Linked DNA regions of Homo sapiens: region 2 is linked to region 1. Evidence: promoter capture Hi-C in 16 types of primary human blood cells and fetal thymus (Javierre and others, 2016). All regions are on one chromosome and are shown on one strand. Each heading gives the region's core, a stretch centred on a gene start or on the middle of the fragment in contact. The rest is flanking DNA. Distances are from core to core; before and after follow the strand shown. Region 1 holds the start of WBP2NL (WBP2 N-terminal like). Region 2 has its middle 42 kb from the start of NFAM1.

The links. The method cuts DNA at HindIII sites, captures the fragments that hold promoters and counts their contacts. A CHiCAGO score of 5 or more calls a contact.
Region 2: a contact is called between a fragment that was not itself captured here and the fragment with the promoter of WBP2NL in region 1, in 2 of 17 cell types (endothelial precursors and total B cells). The highest score is 5.7, in endothelial precursors.

The regions. Positions count from the first base shown.
Region 1 is chr22:41,997,203-42,000,766 of GRCh38, forward strand. It overlaps WBP2NL (WBP2 N-terminal like), which reads left to right and starts at 1,586. Exons shown (of 6, transcript NM_152613.3): 1 at 1,586-1,678. The coding sequence starts at 1,617. SEPTIN3 (septin 3) reads left to right here. Exons shown (of 12, transcript NM_001363845.2): 12 at 1-1,019. It also overlaps the pseudogene SLC25A5P1. RefSeq lists enhancers at 1,136-1,652, 1,653-2,167, 3,502-3,564 and a silencer at 1,479-1,538. The HindIII fragment of the contact is 12,096 bases long and covers 1-3,564 here.
Region 2 is chr22:42,472,276-42,475,558 of GRCh38, forward strand. No RefSeq gene overlaps it. Among named protein-coding and RNA genes, the nearest start is that of NFAM1, 42 kb to the left of the region's middle. The HindIII fragment of the contact is 2,851 bases long and covers 24-2,874 here.

The DNA of each region.
Region 1 (3,564 bases), core at 336-2,835:
TCAGCCGGTCCTAGCCCATCTGCAGGGTGAAAGAACTCATCAAGAGCTCCTTCTGCCCTTGTAAGCCCATCCCAGCTACTTGTAACCATCTCTAAGGGCAATGGCATTGCTCCCTACCCATTCATCTGCATGAGCTACTCTTGGCTTCCTTAAAGGGTCAAGAAAGCAATTTTTCTGCTTACTAGATTCATTGAGATCAGCTGTGTGAGCCCCAAAGTGGGACAAGGGTGTCTCCTTCATTACTTAAAGATATTCATGAGGGTGGGTCACTACAGATGTTGGGGAGCAAGGGCTAGGATCACTTTTTAAAAAATCACCACTTGTGGCTGTCCCAGAGTGCGGTTGTACATCCTCCCCACCTCATAACGCAGCCACTGAGGAAGAGTGGTTTTCCTAAGAAGACATTGCTGGAGTTGACTTTCTTCTGTCCAAACAAACAAACAAAAACTAAACACACACACAAACCCCCAGAAACCCACAATATGTACACGCTAAGGAAAAACTAGCACCCTTCTGTCCACTCAGCAATAAGAGGGATCTCTTCCCACCTACCCTACCTACTCCTACCCCCAACCCCCTTCCCCATTAATGTGAGTAATGAATTAGCCTGACCACAGGTGGTCACTGTAGGCTAATGGAAAATACCCAAGGGAGGGCAAAGCCCCCCATCAGATGCATGAATGTTTGCGAATGTTGACTGCCACTGCCCCACACACTGTGTCTTTATAGAATTCCCCTTTGCCCACCCTCTTCCTGTCTCCACCTGGACACAACTTGCTCAAAGGCTGGTGACTTGTGGGCCATTCATCTACAACCAAGTCCTGATGGAGCAAGAGGCCCACGCCTAGGGGATGCAAGAACAACCCGTTTCTTAAATGTTACCAGTCCCAGCCAATCTTACGGTGACATTACAGTTAAATTTCCCAATTGAAAACAAGCAAACAGACACTCAAACTGGTCCTGTAATTGTTGCTAGACTTTATGTGTTGTACAACTAAACATTGCTGTTTGAACAGTAACTGCCTGGCCTGTCTTATTTGTGCTCCTTGACCAAATCAGCCATTATGTCATCTCACCCATGTGTGGAGGGTGAGACTCTCTTGGTAAGAAATAGCCACAGATATTAGAGATGAAAACACTTTGTGAGGTCAGTTCATCTTCAGTTGGCGTCAGGTCGGGCCTCAGTCATTATTTTCTAGTGTTTCATAACCAAAGTGAGTAATGGATGGGAGGTTGAGGTGGGAAGATGGCTTGAGCATGGGAGGTTGGAGGTGCAGTGAGCTGAGATCATTCCTGACAGGACCAACCCAAGTCCATACCTAAAGGCAGGGGGCTAAGGGGGCAGGTGAGGTCGGGAGGCCACTCACCTATCACTCACCCCTTCGCGCTCGAGCCAATTCTCAGGGCCCGCCTCTTTCTCCCCTTTCTCGGCGGGGGCCTCTACCCTGACTCCGCCCCGCTCCCCGGGCACTGCCCCACCACGTGACCCGGTCTCGCTCCTCCTCCTCCTCCTCCTTACGTCATAATCTCCGCCCTCCCCTTCAGAACCGCGCCCCACAGCTCGGCGCAGGTCCCGCCCCTTTCCATCTACGGGGCGGCAGGAGGCCCGAAGCAAGATGGCGGTGAATCAGAGCCACACCGAGAACCGCCGCGGAGCCCTCATCCCTAACGGTGAAAGGTGCCTGAGGGGAAGCACGGCGTGCTGTCGGAGGAGAGGAGACGAATGAGATAGACATGGCGGCTCGCAAACTCTCAGCGAGTCAGGGACTTTGCCGCCTTTTTTGGGCGCGGCGCTCTTAGCTCCGCCCCCGACCTTTGGGAGCGCGCGCCCCTCACTGGTGTTCCGGCATGTGGAGGTGGCGGAGGCCGGAACGCGTGGCCTCGCGCGTTTGAGGGGTGGGGGTGGGAATGCGCCTTTTCAAGGCGCGGGGCCCAGACGCATGTCTCCTCAGGGCGGGGCGGGGAGGGGGTGCGAGACGCGTGTGTCCTTCGAAGAGAGGCCGGAGCTGACCGGCGGTTGTGAGCAGCCGGGGGCCTTCGGTGGCAGCGTGGCTGCCCTTGGGTGCCTGCGACTTTGTTGGATGAGGACAGGTACTGGGTGTGTATCTCCTCCTACTTCCACGAACAAGGTGTCGCTCTTTGGTAAGAGGGATGAGGAGGTCGAGTGTGGATCATTCTGGAAAGATCTCAAACTGTTGTGGGGCTTCTCCTTGGACCTGGAAACTTTCTAAAGCCATGTTTCCTCCTTGCTCCAACCAGGGAGATGTCTGCTTTTAAAAACAAAATTGAAAAAATTGAGGCCAGGTGCAGTGGCTCATGCCTCTTATCCCAACAGTTTGGGAAGCTGAGGTGGCCCAGGAGTTTGAGACAAGACTGGGCAACATAGTGAGACCCCATCTCTACAAAAAGTAGAAAATTAGTGGGCCATGGTGGTGTGCACCCATAATCCCAGCTGCTTGGGAGGCGATGGTAAGAGGATTGCTTGAACCCAGGAGTTTGGGCTGCAGTGAGCTCAGATTGTACCACTGCACTCCAGCCTGGGTAACAGAGCCAGATCCTGTCTTAAAATAAAAGATGGGACTGAACAGATGCCTGGGCACAACAAAGCACTGTTGGTCGCAGGAAGCTGTGGGGCTTACACCAGTTGCTTTGCTCCTTGCGGTGCCTGCTGCTGGCCCCTGAGCTCTCTACTGGAGCAGACTCAGCCAGAGGGGTGCCCATCTCCACCTTCAAGCACACTTGTTCACTAAGGCCTGACTCCACTGCGCTCACCTCTTTACCCCACACGCCCCCTTTCCCGTTTCCTACACTCAAACTCAGTCTCCCCCGCTGTGCAGTTCTAAATTGCGCTCCTTTCTGGGCTCTGACTTGCCCTCAATTTCCTTTTCTCCCAACCAGCATTGAAACTCAAGCTGGATGATGTGCTTGGGGCCAGCACACTCAGGTCAGTTTGAATGTAGTTGTCAGGAAGATCGAAGTAGACGTTACCAAATGCTGATATCCAGGTCTTTCTTCTATCTTTCCTTCCTCCAGAAAGTTTTCTTGACAGATTTATATGGGCCTTAGAGGTTGTATGTTCTCACCTGCTTCCTACGTACCTCTGCTGCTTTGTTCCATTTTGTGGTAGATGATTGCTCACCACTCTGACAGTGGTGTCCCCGTGAGCACTTACTGAGAGCCATTTGAGCACTTGTCATTCCATGGTGTGAAGCCTTTCTTTTCTTTTCTTTTTTCTTTTCTTAAGATATTTTTATTTCTCCAAATTTGTTATTTATTAGGAGTGACTGAAATAAAAAACATAATTGAGTCCCATCATCATCATCATCATAGAAATGGCTTTAAGAGAAAACTGGTCAGATGACTATTATTGCTTCCCATTTCCAACCAGTGAATAGTTGCCACTGATAAATTGACAGCGAGGAGTCTGTCAAGAATGCTCAAGATAGCCGGGCGCGGTGGCCCACGCCTGTAATCCCAGCACTTTGGGAGGCCCAGGTGGGTGGATCACAAGATCGGGAGTTCAGGAGCAGCCTGGCCAATATGTTGAAACCCCATCTCTACTAA
Region 2 (3,283 bases), core at 199-2,698, 470 kb after region 1:
TTTCCTTCTCTTATTCAGTCAGAAGCTTCTGTTGGCCTCAAGGATAATTATGATTTTCATAGTAGGTAGGTGATGAGAAAGAAAGACGCTTTCACTTTTAAGTATTAAGACTGACTCCAAGTGCATGTGATTCGGTAGTCTTGAAACTGAGCTTTCAGAGAAAAAAGAGATTTTCTAAATTCCAAAGGCTCTGCTTTAAGACGTAAATAACAGAATCCTGGACTTGGATTATAAGCAGTGCACAGGGTCTGAAGGTGTGACTTAGGGAAGTTCCCATCAGTAGGAAGACACAGGAGATCAGATGTCAGCGTCCTGATTCCCTCCTCGGGGTTAACACAGTGGTAGCAAGGCCTGCGGTGAGCATGGCAGCAGAACGACAGGGGCTGCTCAGGCATGCTTTGGAAATGGCCAGGAAAGGGTCTAGGACAGTGGCCTGGAAGGCAGCCTCACAGATCTAGTGTGAGGCTACACCCAGCCTACACTCTCTAGTGTGGAGTGGGAAAAGCAGCCCAGGCCCTGATGAATCAAAAGACTGAGATTGGGGTACAGAGGCCAGGCTGGGAGCCCTGGGCTGGAGGTTGAGAATAATGCATGATGGTATCGCCTCGTGGACACCAGGACGGAAGGTCCAGGAACCGCCCTGGCCATGGCTGAGAGGCAGGAGCCAGGAGGGTGCCCTAGTTACCCCGCACCCTAGCAGCATCTCAGAAAGGAGCAGGGAGAGACACTTGATCGGAACTTGAACCTGAACTTGAACTTTAATCTTGACGCGTTAATGAGGAAGGGAGTTTTGGAAGACTGAAGAGGCTGAGTTAGCTCTGATGAGCATGTTCCTGGTGTTATTTCCTTTCTCTCTTTTGCCGTGAGCAAGAGTGGGGACTTGCGAGCTCAAGGGAATCAGTTATAGACCATTTTTAGTTCTATTTCTGTGCACATCTGCCTGCATACAGCATAAAGATTTTTACCCTGGTTGAGGCGTGCACGGGATGCTGGGATTACAGGCGTGAGCCACCGTACCCACCTGACCCTAAATTATTTTTGGTTCCTCCAATCCAACTTTCTTCCATAGAATACTAAGAATGGGAATTGCTCTGTTCCTAAGGCACTATAAGCTGAAACTAAATGAATTTTAAGGGATGAGTCTTGTGTGTGATCTATGGACCATATAGAAAGTTCACTGGACTGCCTCATGCCATGAGCAGAGACAGTCTAACTGTAAACCAGGACAAGCAGTTGATGGCTTCATGCTGTGGGTGGCTTTTCCCAAGACAACAGAACAAGAGTCCCCATCATGAGCCTCTTGTCCCTCTTAATTCTTCCCTGCTTATGCCAATTTTTTCCACTTGGCAGGATAATGATGCAACTGAAACTTCCCAATCAGTAGCTTCTGCTGGTAACTTGACAGAACCTGACCTAAGAGATCCTTTAGGCCACCTAGTGGGTAACTTTGGCAACATCCCTAATAGAACTGTTGTTCACTCGGCTTTAATGCATCCCAGTTGTGGGATACTAGATGATGAATTTGCTCTATATTATTTATTGGTTGGATAAGGAAATGTCTGTGCTATTGCTAATACTACATGCCACACCTGGATAAATTTCTTTGGGGAAGTTGAGACCCAAATACACAAAATAAGAAAACAAGTCACTTGGTTACAACAGGTCTCATCTAATTCTCCATGGTCATTCGATTTATTCAATGTATTCCCTTTAAGTCTAGGTTCATAGCTCAAAACCATTATGCAAACTAGGGTTACCATTTTTATTTATTTATTTATTATTTATTTATTTATTTATTTATTTATTTATTTATTTATTTTTGAGACAGAGTTGCGTGCTGTCACCCAGACTGGAGTGTAGTGACACGATCTCAGCTCACTGCAACCTCCGCCTCCTGGGTGTGAATCCTCCTGCCTCAGCCTCCCGAGAAGCTGGGACTACAGGCATGCACCACCACGTCCAGCTAATTTTTTTTTTTTTTTTGAGCCGGAGTCTTGCTCTATCACCCAGGCTGGAGTGCAGTGGCTATATCTCGGCTCACTGCAAGCTCTGCCTCCTGGGTTCACGCCATTCTCCTGCCTCAGCCTCCCGAGTAGCTGGGACTACAGGTGCCTGCCACCATGCCCAGCTAATTTTTTGTATTTTTTTTTTTTTTAGTGGAGATGGGGTTTCACCGTGTTAGCCAGGATGGTCTTGATCTCCTAACCTCGTGATCTGCCCTCCTCAGCCTCCCAAAGTGCTGGGATTACAGGCGTGAGCCACCGCGCCCAGCCACGTCCAGCTAATTTTTTGTAGAGACAGGATTTCACCATGTTGCCCAGGCTGGTCTCAAACTCCTGGGCTCAAGAGATCCACCCACTTCAGACTCCCAAAGTGCTGGGATTACAGGTGTGAGCCACTGCACCTGGCTATCCCTTCTCTTAGAAGGATGAATCAGTCTATTCAGTAAATTTAAAAGGTGACTGGGGCTGGGCGTGGTGGTTCACATCTGTAATTCCAGCACTGTGGGAGGCCGAGGCAGGTGGATCACCTGAGGTCAGGAGTTCGAGACCAGTATGACCAACACGGTGAAACCCCATCTCTACTAATAATACAAAAATTAGCCAGGTGTGGTGGTGCACAACTGTAATCCCAGCTACTCTGGAGGCTGACGCAGGAGAATCACTTGAACCCAGGAAGTGGAGGTTGCAGTGAGCCGAGATCGCACCAGTCACTCCAATAGAGTGAGACTCTGTCTCAAAAAAAAAAAGAAAAAGTGACCTTATGAATGGGTAACAATTGCCTGTGTCTTACAGCCAGATCTCAAACAACTTCGTGAACAAATCTACAAGAATCACACATTGTTAAAACACAGCCATCTCACACACAGAATCAAGCTTGTGTTTGACAATGGCATGGAAATCACACTAATTATGATGACCTAGGCTGGGAGAGAAAACCAGTGCACCTGCACTATCTGATCCCAGCCTCCCTCTGAGCCTCACCTGGGGTCACTCTTCCCCTTAGTGTGCTGTAGCCACTCTAGATCCCACCTGCTCCTAAACACACCCATCTCTTCTCTGCCCCGGGGCCTTTGCACGTGGCACTCCCTCTGCCTGAGAAGCTGCCACTTGATGTTGTCAGCTCCTTCTTATGCTTCAGATCTTCCTTTCAATGCCAGCTACTCACAGAAGCCCTCCCTGACCACCCTGTTCAAAGTAGCATCCTCACTGTGGTAGCAGGATGATGCCTCCCCCAAGATGTCCATGTCCTAATCCCTGGTACCTGTGAATATGTTATGTTA